Regions from separate parts of the Homo sapiens genome. Here region 1 is linked to region 2. The links are contacts of gene promoters, found by promoter capture Hi-C in blood cells and fetal thymus (Javierre and others, 2016). All regions are on one chromosome and are shown on one strand. The core of a region is centred on a gene start or on the middle of the fragment in contact, and the rest is flanking DNA. Distances in the headings are between cores, read along the strand shown.

Evidence for each region. Contacts are between HindIII fragments. The CHiCAGO score rates a contact against its expected background, and 5 or more counts as called.
Region 1: a contact is called between a fragment that was not itself captured here and the fragment with the promoter of TTC7B in region 2, in 4 of 17 cell types (endothelial precursors, M1 macrophages, erythroblasts and 1 more). The highest score is 8.6, in endothelial precursors.

The regions. Positions count from the first base shown.
Region 1 is chr14:90,300,248-90,307,629 of GRCh38, forward strand. It overlaps NRDE2 (NRDE-2, necessary for RNA interference, domain containing), which reads right to left. Exons shown (of 14, transcript NM_017970.4): 5 at 3,688-4,135; 6 at 2,473-2,878; 7 at 992-1,125. Among named protein-coding and RNA genes, the nearest start is that of NRDE2, 28 kb to the right of the region's middle. RefSeq lists a silencer at 2,558-2,852. The HindIII fragment of the contact is 2,339 bases long and covers 758-3,096 here.
Region 2 is chr14:90,812,103-90,819,038 of GRCh38, forward strand. TTC7B (tetratricopeptide repeat domain 7B) reads right to left here and starts at 4,328. Exons shown (of 20, transcript NM_001010854.2): 1 at 4,073-4,328. The coding sequence starts at 4,193. RefSeq lists a silencer at 4,322-4,501. The HindIII fragment of the contact is 10,969 bases long and covers 1-6,936 here.

The DNA of each region.
Region 1 (7,382 bases), core at 677-3,176, 510 kb before region 2:
AAAATCTCACAGCATGTCTTAAAATTACTCTGTTATATGGTTTATTAATGATTGATTATAGCAATTTAACTGGTATAATTCTTTAATCCAATTTTTTCTAGAGGTAGCATCATGATAAAAATGGTCTTTACTGGCAATTCATGAAACTCCCACATGACGGAGGCCTTGGCCTCTCAAGAAACACTTTTGAATGTTCACCATAAACTCATATATTCTATTTATCTTCCACTAGACATCTTTACAGAGTAGAAAACTGAGTTTTATTTAGTGGAAAAAGGGAAAAGATACATTTTCTTATATACATAGCTCTATAAAAATTCTTTATTTCTTCACTTATCTTCATTTATCTCAAACATTGGCAATGCTCGCTTGTCATCTAAAGGATTAACCCTTCCCCAATAAGGATCACTGTTGACAAGGTATCTCTGTGTAATTTCATTTGCAACTCTAGCGAAGATTGTGGGTACTTAGAAGGTTAACTGAGGAAGTGATGCAAGACCCAAACTAGAATGTGTAAGGGTGGAAGAGAGTAATACAAGGTTTAAAATGGCATGACAACTGTTTCCCTGACTAGGGGAGCCAATCAGCATTTAAACAAAGGCAGAAAGGGGATGGGGGGGAGGAGGGGAGGGGAGGAGGAAGGGGAGGGGAAGGGGGCAGGGAAAGGAAAAGGAAAGGAGGAACACAGGCAGGCAGGCAGGCAGGCAGGGTGGGAGGGTGAGTCCTCAGAGAGCCTTTATGTTGTGAAGGAGGGGGAAGCTTCTTTACCTATCCACATCTCACCATTTTCATTACAAAACTTTCCTCAGATCACTGGACTATTTCTGAGAATTCCTCCTCAGCAGACTGATATAAAGGAGGATATGATATTTTAAAAACACTACCACACCACCTCTCATTATCCACACCACCTCTCATTATCCACACCTTCCCCCTCTCCCTCCAGAGAAAGAGCCAGGAAGAGAGAGATGAGGCGAGCAGAGCTGGGTACCTGTCCTTTGGTAGGCAGATCTTTCACGCTGTCGGGTTTGAAGAAGGTGAAGTCCACCATGGCCTGGAACAATGAGATGGCCTTCTCAGAGTGGCCAGCCTGCCGCAGAAAGTGGCACTGCTGAAGAAAGAGTGCTGCGAACAGGAGGGCAAAGGGGAAGAAGCCTGGTTGATACCGTTAAAGGGAAAGAACCTAACTTCTCAAAACAGGCAATTAACACATTGAGAACACCTTTCACCTGCAATCACTATTAATTTACAAAGCTGTGATACATGTCTTGATTTAAAGCGTCTCACACAGTATTATAATCCAAGTATGTTTGTTCTAATTTTTGTATGAAAGCATCACAGAACACAAATATTAACAACAAAAACTATATATAGTACATAAAAATAAGTCAAGAGGTTGGTCTGAATGCTATCAAATAATCACAGCTCATTATCACAAGAAAAATTATAGAAAAAGGATGGCGTAGCAGATTTTTATCAGAAAGCAAAGAGCTGTATTCAGTTGATCACTAGATGGCATTACTCACCAGCAACTTTCATCCTATGTTCAGAGTCGGCTGTAAACAAATCAAGGTTCCATGTCTGAACATTCCAGTTCATCTTACTTTTGGTACAATTCCAGCTACTAAATAACACTAAGCTATTTGTGTAGATCACATACAGTGACAAATTCAAGACTCTGTGTCAGTGTGATAAATGCTTATATTTTGAGAGCAATGTATTTCTATCTTTAGATGCCAACAGTAATTAATACTCAATAACAGGGGTTGTGATCAAATAAATGCCTGCTCTGTGCCGGACACTGAGCTAGACTCGCCATGGATTATCTCGTTTACTGTGCAACACAGTCCTGTAAAGCAGGTTTATAGTATTGTTGCTGATGGAGAAACTGGGGCTCAAAGAGGACCTGCCCAAGGACACAAGAGAGCCAGTGAAGGGCAAACCCTTCAGGATTCAAGGTCAAAAGTGATACTCTCTGGCTCTGCATAACATGCAGCCTCCAACATCTCATTACTGTCAAAATTAATGTTCCAGGTTCCTTCAGGACACACCAAAAATGTTAACAGCATAATAATACCCAAAACTTCTATTTATGCAGTGGTTCCCAGTCAGGGCATCTCACGGACATTACTGCCTGGGACCCTACAATTGGGTGAGACAGGTACATGCATCTCGACAGATAAGGCCACCGACTGCCAAAGCAGTTAAGAGACTTGCCTATGTTTACTTGGCTAATCAGCAGAACCTTGTCCAGTGATATCTTAACTCTACTGGCCCTATTGCCCCCACCTGCCCTGGGAGCTGGGGGCAAATTTGTTATCAAAAAGAGTCGTAATACTTTTTTAAAAAAATCAGTTCTATCAAACAATTTAGACTTTTTCTAGAATAAATCAAAAATAGATCTTCATTTTCAAGTAAAGCCAAAAGAAAGTCTAACTCCTCCCACGTAACTGGATCTGGTTATCTCCTTACCAAACATGGCCTCTTCCGTGCCAGGCAACGCAGGGTGAGATAAGATGCTGCCGTCCTTAACAGCAGACAAAGTGCTCAAGCATTTTCCATAAAGACTGTGAATTTTTGATATCGAAAAGGTACTAAACTGGCTCTGGCAAAATAAAAGGTATTTCTGCCAAAGGGCTGTATTATTGGGATGCAAAAATATCAGTTTCTGCCACTCTTTGACCAGAGTGGAGGGCTCCCAGAACTCTGTGCAGAGCTTCAGCTTGGCCAGTTTCAGATCCACACTGCTCTGGTTGCTCTCAATGGCCCGCTCCAGAATGGCCAGCTTCTTCTCCAGAATGAGCTTCAGGGACCTCTTTCGCTTTTCCTGCTCTCCTTCCTCGATGGCATACAGGCCAGGACTTTTCATGACCTCGTCCTCAACAACAAAAACACCAATTTACAAATGCAAATGGACCTGGGAGATCCTGAGTTTCAACAATGCTTACTGATTTTCTTACCACCCCCTAGGGACTTTCTTAAACCACCAGTTTGCCACTATTTCTTTTAAAGAAAACCTGGATCCTAAAGTGCTTGTGTCACCTGATATGTTTGATCTTGTATTTATCACTTAATTATCCACTCTCTGCCATTTTAAGCTTTGATTTCTGCATCAATGACTAGCATACAATGCCTTGAAAGTCTTTTCTGAAGAGCAGACCTTACCAATAAAAGGGCCAAATGTGGCACAAAATATGGTAATTGTATGAGTGGTTCAAAATTAGGGATTCAGACAAACCTACAAGTTTTCGAAAGAGAATGCATGGCTCTAACTGGGTAATACACTGAACAGCCCTCTCTCTTTCACAATTCCGTGAGCTCTGCCTGTTCTGTTTGTACTTCAGGAATGCCTCTCCCTACCTGGTGAACATCTCTTCTTTCAAGATTGTGTTGAACTTCACCTTCTCCTTGGTAGCTCTTTCTCCTCCCTCAACACAAGCCATTCCCTCACTCCACTCCCAAGTTATACATTACAGCATTTACTACCCCAGGGTGCACTTATTCTTCGCATGTCCATTTTCCTCATTGGACTTTGAGCGAGCTCAGGGCAAAGGCTCTATTCTAATAATCTTTGTATGCCCAGTGTCAAATTTCCTCATTTGCTCAAAAATTGCTGCACAGTCCATCAGTTTGCCCAAAATCAGGAATGTCCTTCTAAGGTAAGAGAATTGGGATGGCAACACATACCTGAAAAGCAACAAATGCCATCCACAGCTGCGTATCCCGAGGATTCTCCCGCACCCTCCTGTTAAACTCCTCCACCTTGGCCTTGAGAGCCGCACTCTCGCTGTCTGGCTGTGCGTCTGGCTGCTTTGATTCCTGCTCTGGAGGACCCTGTCCTTGTAGCCAATGTGTGGTTGACTGATCATAAATCCCCAGAGGATTCAACCAGGTTGTAACAGGAGCCGCATCTTCCAAGTCCTTCACTGGTATAAAGGAGATGGGCTCAGATGAGGGAGGTTCAGTTTTACTGCTAATGGCAACTCCATCGATGTTCATTAATCCCACACTCTTCTTAGTAAAATAGCGTTCAACCTGCTTGCGTGAATGCTTCTTCTCTGTGGAAGTCCCTTCCCAAGATATGCACTGCTTCTTAGGGTTAATGCCAAGGCAGGAGTCTCCTTTCCTCTTGTATCTGATATTAGAAAAAGAAAAAAAGTTACTGAGGGAATACGTGTACTACCTCTGAATGACTAAAGGCGCATTAGACCTAAACTCTCGTTATGCAGGTTCACTGCATATAACCAAATTCACCTCACCTTCAGATTGTTTCTATTTGGAGATACACAAGGACTAGTAATTAACTTTCTTTCTGCCTGGCTTGACTTCTTCCTATAACACTTCAACTCTTCTTTAACATCTCATGAATTTAAGATCATGCCTGTCTTCTAGATCTTAGTAATTTCTATTTTCCTGGAGCCTTGTAAAGAACTGTCACACACATTATGTCATTTGATCATCACAGCCATATGTGACAGGCAAGGCAAAAATTATCATCCCTTCTCTTAACTGTTCCTAAATAAGGACACTGAGGCCTGGGAACCTGGATCATCTGTTTCCTAGACCAGTCCTGTTTTCTCAATATTTTCCTGTGTCCCTACTTAAGAAGATAACATATAGGCCTAAGATTCTTTTTTTAATCCTGAAACAAAGTATGTCAAATGAAATTACATTTGGTTATTTTCTACTCTAGAGGAAAAGAGGTTGGGTTCTAAAACGCTTTTATGGAACATGTAGGCGTCCCCAGAGTTAACAAACACATGACTACTGAATATTTGCACAGGCAAAAGCTAAGGAAAATTGTACATTTTTCTGTATGTATGTTAGCAAACAATTCAATTTTAAAAACGGGCAAAAGATCTGAACTGAAATTCCACAAAAGAAGACATGAATAGCCAATAAGCACATAAAAAAAAAAACAACTCAACATCCTTAGTCAACAAGGACATGCAAATTAAAACCACAATGAGGTACCCCACACACCAACTAGAACAGTGTTAATATTTAAAAGGCTGACAACACCAAATGTTGGTGAGTAACCTGTGGAGTAACCAGGACTCTCATCCGCTGTCAGCGGGAATGTAAACTGGTATAATCACTTTGGGAAAAGATCTGGCTGTTTCTTAAAAAATTCAACACAGACCTAACCTATGACCCAGCAATTCTATTCCTACATATTTACCCAAGAAAAAGGAAAGCACATGTCTACACAAAGACATGAGCACAAATGCTCTCGGCAGCTTTATTCCTAACAGCCAAACACTGAAAGAGTCCACGTGTCCATCAATAGAAGATGGATAAGTAAACAGAGGTACAGCCATACAATGGAATACTACCAGCAGTAAAAAGGAGCTACTGGTAAGTGCCTTATGGACGGATGATCTCAAAAACATTACACTGAGTGAAAGAAGCCAGAAGCCAGATACAAAAGAGTACACACTGTATAATTCCACTTACATGCATTTTAGAACAGGTAAAAACGAATTGAGGGTGGAAACAAGTAAGAACGGTGATTGCCTCTGGGAGAATGGGGTACAGACTTACCAGAAAAGAGCACGAGGAAACTTCTGGCGGTCAGAGTAATATTTCACATTTTAACAGAGGTTCGGGTGAGAATGAAGCTTTGTGCATTACATTGCATGTAAATTTTCAATTAAAGGAATAAAACTAAATAAATATTGACCTCTAGTTAATAATACACATGCTGAAGTATTTAGGGGGTTGTTTATTGATCTGCAGTTTACTTTGAAATGCATCAAAAAAATAGGATGGGCTGATGGATGGACACATATGACAAAACAAGTACAATACAAACTTAATGGATACAAAGTTAATGGTAGATGTAGGGGGCAGTTATACGAGCATTCACTGTAAAAATCTTTCAACTTTTGCTGTATATTAAAATTTTTTCCTAATAAAACCGGAAATGCCGTGGGGAGAAAAAGGCAGGGGAGAACTGCCTTCATCTTCTGTCAGCTCCCAGGAAGCTCCGCTCCACTTCACCTTGGTTCAGGGCCGGGCTCTCTCCCTCACCTCTGTGGCTTCTCTGCGGTCAACAGGTCCCCTCTCTAAGTGCCTCTGCCCTCCTCACTGACCAAACACAGCAAATTCCACTGTAGGGGACTATTTTCTCACACAGACATAAATATTCTCTCTCAAACCTTTTATCTAGCCTCCCTCCCAATTCTTTCAGACTATCTCATGACAGTCTCTTGCCATTCCATTTATGAGTCAAAAACAACCTTAACAAAGGTGTGATGAGATAAAATAGCACTAATGTAGGCCGGGTGTGGTGGCTTATGCCTGTAATCCCAGCACTTTGGGAGGCTGAGGCGGGTGGATCACCAGAGGTCGGGAGTTTGAGATCGGTCTGGCTAACATGGTGAAACCCCGTCTCTACTAACTATACAAAATTAGCTGGGCGTGGTGGCACACGACTGTAATCCCAGCTACTTGGGAGGCTGAGGCAGGAGAATCACTTGAACCCAGGAGGCAGAGGTTGCAGTGAGCCGGGCTCAAGCCACTGCTCTCCAGCCTGGGCAACAGAGTGAGACTTGGTCTCAAAAAAAAAAAAAATAGCACTAATGTAGTTCTAAACAAGGCTGCCATTCCCTAAGGAACAAACTTTAAGTTAAAAAGCTAGTTTTGTTCTCCTTTATCCTCTTTTAATAGTATTGATTCCTCATTAGTCTCACAAAAAATATACAGTATTTTAGATATTCATAAAATCTCTTGAAAAATGTTTACTGTTTCCTGACTTTAAACTAACAGCTGCATTTTTATAACAAATTAGATGAAAATGATAAGGGAAGGGGAAAAATGTTACTGGCCTATATTACTATCTACTTTCAGACACTATATGTGTTTCAGTATGTATATATATGTGTGTGCACATACATCCTTTTTCAAAATAGTTGATATCACATAGTTTCAGGCCTGCCTTCCTACTTTAAAGCATCTCCTCATACCATTAATCTTAGAAAATATAATTTGTATTGACTTCAAACTGTTCCATTGTATGGATGTGCCATAATTTATTTAACCATTTCCCAATCATTAGACATTTAGGTTATATCCAATTTATCACTTAGCATGAGATCTTAATAATTATACAGGACCTAGGCTATAATTTAACACAATGTTTCCCTAAATGAAGGCACTTTTGCTATAAAATCCTTATCAAATAATCAACTAACGGCCAGGCGTGGTGGCTCACATCTGTAATCCCAGCACTTTGAGAGGCCGAGGTGGGTGGATCAATTAAGGCCAGGAATTTGACACCAGCCTGGCCAACATGGTGAAACCCCATCTCTACTAAAAATACAAAATTTAGCCAGGCTGCTCTTGAACTCCTGACCTCAAGCGATCCGCCCGCCTCAGCA
Region 2 (6,936 bases), core at 3,078-5,577:
ACCATCCCACTGAATCCTCACACGTGCCCTGAGAGTGGGCATTCTGAGCTGGCTGAGCAGGGAGGAAAGGCAGGCTCCGAGAGGCTAAGAACCTGGCTGGAGATCACCTAGCCACTACAGGTAAGGTCCAAATTTTAGACCCGGTGCCAGGTCACTGCACTTTCACACACAGTGGTGACCTCATCATTGGGAGGCTGGAGGGTGACATTCTGTAGAGAGAGGACAGCTGGGCCTGTCCTCCCAGAGACCAGGACCGACCTGTGAGCCCACATGAAGCTGATGTGCAGCTCTGTCTTTATCCCTGAGCGCTCAGGCTGCTGCCTCAGCTCCAAGCCAGGGCACCTCAGGCTTCTCTGAGTCCCCCAAACCCCTGGACACCTTGCTGAGATGTGGATTCTAACCCTGCACGTCTGAAGCCGGCCCAAGAATCCGCATTTCTCACAGGTTCCCGGTGGTGCCCCTGCCACTCATCCCCAGGCCACACTTCAGCCCACGAGGGCCTAGGCTTCCGGGGGACTGTCTCCCACCCCCACCCTTAACTTAGGTGACCATTCTCTCAGTGGGACTCACCCGGGTCTGGTGCACAGCTAGGTTCCACCACATTTGGGTTTTTTGAGATGGTGCAATGAAAATGGTGACTACGGTAGGGTACGAGGAAGAAGACAGACCTCTGGGTTCACTTTTCAACTTGGCATTTGTCCTTTTCTTCCTTATCCACCTCTTGGCAAAACATCTAAACCAATTCATCTCAAAGGAGCCAGGCTGGGGCAGTACACTCTGAAAGTGTCCACTATTTAGAGTCCTTAACGGGGAGGGGCTGCCACGCTTCCTTCCCGTAAGGAGCTAATGCTGCTGGGTGGGGAAGCCCACTACAAGTGGGAGCTTTGGGAAGGAGGGATTCCTCTGCTCAGAACTCTCCCATAGCCCTGTCTCACTCACAGGAAAGCCAAAGCCTTACCCTCGGCCTATCAGGCCCCGCCACTTTCTACCCATGAAGTTCCCTCCCTAGAACATGCTTCTCCACCTCCTTAGGTCTCATCTCAGATGTTGCCTTCTTGGGGACACCTTTCAGGGCCACCCTATTTAAACTAGTAGTTCCTGCAACCCCCACTCCCAGCCCACTCCAAAGCACCTATTCACCTTCCCCTTTTTCTCTTTGATAGCACTGACCACCATCTGACACCCTGTAAACTTTACCTAATGATTATATTGATTATCTGTCTCCCTGCCCCTTTCCTACTGGGATGTGAGTTTCATAAGGGCTGAGATTTTTGCCATTTTTGTCTGTTTTGTTTACCAGTGTATTTCCAGTGCCTAAAACAGTGGCTAGCACAGAGCAGGTACTCAATCTTTGTGGAAGGAAGGAAGGAATGAGTGGCTGGCCCTGAGAGACATTAGCTACTTTAACCCTCATAACAACCCCTGCAAGGTAAGTCATTTAAATCCCGTTCTAAAATGAGAAAACTGAGGCTCAGAGTGGTTAAGTGATTTGGCCAATGTCACAAAGTCAAGAAGTGGCCAAGGTCACAAGAATCAGTCCCCCATCTGGCTGGCTCCAAACACTGTATTCTTTTTTTTTTTTTTTCGCCTGTGGTTGTTTTCATGGTAACTGTCTTAGTGTGACAAACGTGACATTCACTTGCTTTCCTTATTCTAAGCAGAAGATGCTTTAACTTCAGGATTTTGCAAAATCTGCCCAGAACTTGTGCTCATGCACCCGAGAATCTATGGGGGAGCCGGTGCCCCCAAAAGCCAGGAAGAAGTCCCTCTACCAGCCCGAGAGTGGGAAGGCCTCACCAGTCAAACGGAGGGAAGGCCCCTCTTGCAAACACCAAAGGAGAGCCACAATCATTCTAGTTTAGTTTCATCTTTTTCTTGGCTTCATCGTTTTATTTTCCTGAGCACTCACTCTGTCTGATCTTTTCAAGTCCGGGTAACTTTTTGCCATCAATGGCTACCACTCACCATGTGAGTCTCTAGGACAAAAATCTATGTCCCATGAGTTTCCCCAAACTGAACTTGCACACAGACCCATGGACCACAGTGCCCCCGCAAACCCCGATCCCCAAGCCCCACTCATGACTGCATCTTAGGACATTGGGAGCAGCCCCTGGGAAGAGAGCTAAGCCTTTCGGGGGCCATGAAGGTGAATAGGAAGGGCCCAGGCCACCAAAAACCCATCTACCCTCTCATTCCAGGGACCATCATAGCTTGAGTCCCCCTTCATCTGCCTGTCATTCTCAATCACATTAACTCATCTGTTTTGTTTCAATCACTTCTCACTATCTGAAGCTGTGCTGTTTATTTATTTCCATATTTGCTTATCACCTGCCTCCTGAGAGCAGGGTGAGGGCATAAGGGCAGGGGCTTGGTCAGTGCTGTTCACCACTGTTCTGTGACTGGCACAGGTGGGCACGCAAATATTGGGTGAATGAATAAGCAAAGACAGCAGGAAACAAGTGGATTCAGAAGAAAAAAGACCAGGAGGCTCACAAATAAACCCATTTAATCCTAAAATCAACCTGCACAGAAGGTGTCATTATGCCTACACCGCTGGGAAGCCACAAAGTAGACCCAGGACTGTGCAACTCCGAGAGGAAAAGAGAAAATGCTGCAGGTAAGCGGAGAAGCAGGTGAGCCCGACACGGAGGGCAAAGGCAAGCTGCCTCTGGGGCCCAGGGCACTGAACACCATCTCCTCAAAGGCTGACATAACTGAGAAGGGTCCACATTTTCCACCAAGTGGAGCCCGTGTAGGGTCGGTGCTATCTCCATGCCCCTGACACACCATGGCACCTGCGTTCACCCAGAAGGTACCTGCCCACAGCATGCATCCATCATTGAGAGTGCGCAAAACCAAGTTCTAATTTCCAGGCACTAATACCATAGGACACAAACATAAACCACCCTCCAGGAGGACACCTGACATCCCTCTCCTTTCTGGGTAGTCTGAAGTGAGAAGGTTGAAAATAGTGCAGATGTCCTTTCTTAGAGCAGCCCCGCCATCCATTCATTCACTCTTTCATTCATTTGTTCAGCCAACATGTGCTCACTGGGCCTGGGGAAGCCCAGGATGAAATGAGACAAACCCTCTGCCCTCTGGCCACGGTGTGCTGGTGCCTGCGCTTTAGGCGGGTACTAAAAGACAAGCAAATATTAAAGATACTCGCTTCCAAAACAAATAAGGCCACGTGGAGCTGTGCACTGGAATGGGATTCTGGATGCAATTTTATTTGATTGGGTACAAGAACCAATCCAGTTAAAGGGGTCATGAACCAACTCCAGGCACCAGGCTCCTACTCAGAGGCTGCCTCAGACCCCCTTCTGGCCCAGGCACCAACCCCTCACCCACCCAACTCCATCTCCCGACATTCTTCAACCACATTCCCATCTCGCTCCACAATATTCTCCCTCCAGGTCCCCCTGACTCTATTTCTCCTCTATTCCCAACCCTGACCTCTCTAGGTCGGCAGCCTTGATGCTACTTCTCCGAACGCCAGGACGCACATCCCAGCCTGCTTTCTACCACCACCCCACACACCTCGAGTCTGCGCTTCCACCCAGAACCCCTTAAACACCATATGTTTACAAACCAGATTCCCCAGGGGTCTATGTACAACACCCCATTCTCAAGACCCCATAAACACATCCTGATTCCCTGAGCACACCATACACACACTGTGGACTTCACCCATGTCCTGAGGGACCCCCTCACCCCATCACCTCCAACTTCTTGGAAGCCCCAGGCCGGCCCCTGACCTCCTGTGGTCCCAGTGGAGCAGCGGACTCGCTGAGACCCCCGGACACCCCAGACTCCGCAGAAGCCCGCCCTGCACGCTTGAACCCCAGGCGCCGGGACAGCCCCTGGCGCCCCCCCGGGCCCCCACACCGCGTGACTCCGGGGCACCCGGGCTCCCCCAGGCCCCGGTCCCGCGCACATCCCCTGGGCCGCAGCTCCCTCGCGGCCCGGCCGCGCCCCTGCCCGCGCCCCGCGCCCGGCCGCGCCTCGGGGGCCCGTTCCCGCGGAGGCCGCGGCGCCCCCCGCAGCCCAGGCCGGCGCGCCCGGAGCGTACCGTTGGCGATGAGCTTGGCCGACAGCTGCTTGACGAGCTCAGGGATCCGCTCCCACTGGCACTCGGAGCGGCAGCGCTCGATCTCCGTCTCCAGCCGCGAGCCTGCCTTCTTGGTCGCCATCGCGGCCTGGCCGGGCCCGGCCGCCCGCCCCGCAGGCCCCACCGCCGCCGCCGCGGCGCCCCCTCGCCGCCTCCCGCCGCCGCCGCGGGCTCGGGCTCCGGCTCCCGGCTCCGCGGCGTAACGGGAGCGCCGGCTGGGGAAGGGGCGGGGAGGCGGGCGGCGGCGGCGGGCGCGGCGGGGCCCCGGGCGCCGCGAGGAGCGGCCCCTGCCGGCCAGGGCCGGAGCCGCAGCACTGACCGGGGCCGGAGCCAGGGCTGGGGCAGGGGCGGGGGCTAGGGCGGGAGACAGGGGCCCGAGGGAGGAAAGGCGGGGTGGGCATGGAGGACAGGGAGAGGGACTGGGGGTGTCTGGGGCGGGGTGAAGACCGAGGGGAAGTGGGGATGGGGGTGGGGGAGCGGGGTAGGAGAGAGATCTGACCAAGGGCGGGTGAGGGGTCTGGTGGGGTAGGGGTCTGGGCAGGATGAAGGGGAGGGAGAGGATCGGGAGGGAGCTAGCGACAGCCTGGGAGCGGGTTGGATCCCCAGGAGTAGGGCCAAGAAAGGGCAGTGACCCTGGGGAAGGTCACCGCCCGGTGGGACCAGTGAGCCAGGTGTGAGGGGTGGGGGGAGGCCTGCCCGAGTTTGTCCTGCCATCTCAGGTGGCCAGCGGTTCCCTGGGGCCCGGTTGGCCTGTGCCCCTTAGCAGATGCCCCTCTGCCCCGCAGCCTTAGCCCCTACCCAGCCAGAGGTGGACGGAGACTCCTCCATCCCAGGCAAGGCACAGCACCTGCCAGGGGTGCCCTAGATGGCTGAGCGGAGCCAGGCAGGGGCTGCCACTCTCACACGCCAGCTCTCGGACCCCCTGAGGGGAAGGCACAGTCACTGGTGGGGCCTCCTGTCTTGGCCACCTAGACTGAGACCTAGGGAGGTGTCCCTCTGTGTTCTCTCAGTGAATCAACTGTCTAGTGATCACCTACTATGTGCTGGGCGCTGCTTTAGGTGCCAGAGATAGAATTGTGAGCTAAAAAAACAAAATTCCTGGCTTGAGAGAGCTTACATTCCAGTTTGGGGGAAAAATAAGCAAAATAAAATAGTAAACTAGACTGTAAAAATGGCTATTTGAAGAAACAGGGAAGGGTTCAGTGAGGAACATAAAGAGTTGGGACAGGCGGGTGGCTCATGCCTGTAATCCCAGCTACTCAGGAGGCTGAGGCAGGATGATTGCTTGAGCCCAGAAGGTGGAGGCTGCAGTGAGCAGTGAACGCACTTCAGCCTGAGCAAGTGTTGCCATTTAAAATGGAGCAGTCAGGGATGGCCTCACGGAGGTGGCATTAGACTTGAAGAAACTAAGGGGGAGCCATGAGGATATCTCTGGGGGAGGAGTATCCCAGGCAGAGAACACCACAAGTGCGAAGGCTCTGGGGTTAGAGCACACTGGGTGGGATGGAGAAATGGCAGAGGCCAGAGGGGCTGGGTGGAGCGAAGGAGAGGGGCCGAGGCAGGAGATGAACTCTGAGAGGTTGGGGGGAGTTCTGTGTAGTGCCTGGTGGGCCATTATAAGACCTTGGCTTTTGGCTGGGCACGGTGGCTCACGCCTGTAATCCCAGCACTTTGGGAGGCCGAGGTGGGCGGATCACGAGGTCAGAAGATCGAGACCGTCCTAGCTAACATGGTGAAACCCGTCTCTACTAAAAATATTTTTAAAAATTAGCCGGGCGTGGTGGCAGGCGCCTGTAGTCCCAGCTGCTGGGGAGGCTGAGGCAGGAGAATGGTGTGAACCCGGGAGGCGGAGTTTGCAGTGAGCTGAGATGGCAGCACTGCACTCCAGCCTGGGCAACAGAGAGAGACTCCGTCTCAAAAAAAAAAAAAAAAACTTTGACTTTTACTCTGGTGACATGGAGCAGCCCTGCAGGGCTTTTCACGGAAGAGTGGCATGATCAGACCTACACTTTGGACTATCACTGTGACTGCAGTGTTGAGAATACTGCCAGGGAAATAGCTGTGGTGGTGGCAGTGTTGGATTCTGGGTCCTGCATTTGAGAGTGAAGCGGTCAGTCTGGAAGGTTCCGTAGCCCGCCCGCAGTCACAAGGAGGCACTGAGGGGTCGTCGTCATTCCTTCTGGGTGCCCTTACTCCAACTTTCCAAGAGCAGTCACACGCAGGTTCTTATCCCCACCACAACTCCCCCACCACCGGAGTTGATGAAGAACACACACTGTGGACCTCAGTTTACCAATGAGGAGGCTGAATCACAGACATTTAAGAGAGGTGAGGAGGAAAGATAAGGAGATGTGTTCTGATGTGACCAGTATCACTTTCAGGTGCCTCAGGGACTGCCAAGGTGATGGAAGTTGAGCTGACAGGCCCTGGACACTGTGAACAGCCCAGGGAAAGGGGAACTAGAACGTTAGAGTTTCAACAGGGGACCCTTTAGTGCCCTGGCCCTTAGCTCCCACCAAGAGGGAGCAGGAAGGGAAGGAGAAGAAATCTCCACAGGAGATGTTTCCTCTCTCCTGACACCCTCCTGTTCTCCCAACTCCAGTCTGCCTCTCCAGATTTGCTGGGAATGTTCTCCATCTGGACCAGGAGACAGATTCCTGTGCCTTCTTTCAGACACGGGCCAAAGGTTACTGGGCAGCCTTGCTCAACATCTGACAGACCTTGTGTGACAGCACTTGCCATCTCCCTCTGGGAAGGGGCAGGGTCTTAATCATGACTAACGCATACACTGCCTCAGTTGCCACACTGGAAGGTAAATGATGAGG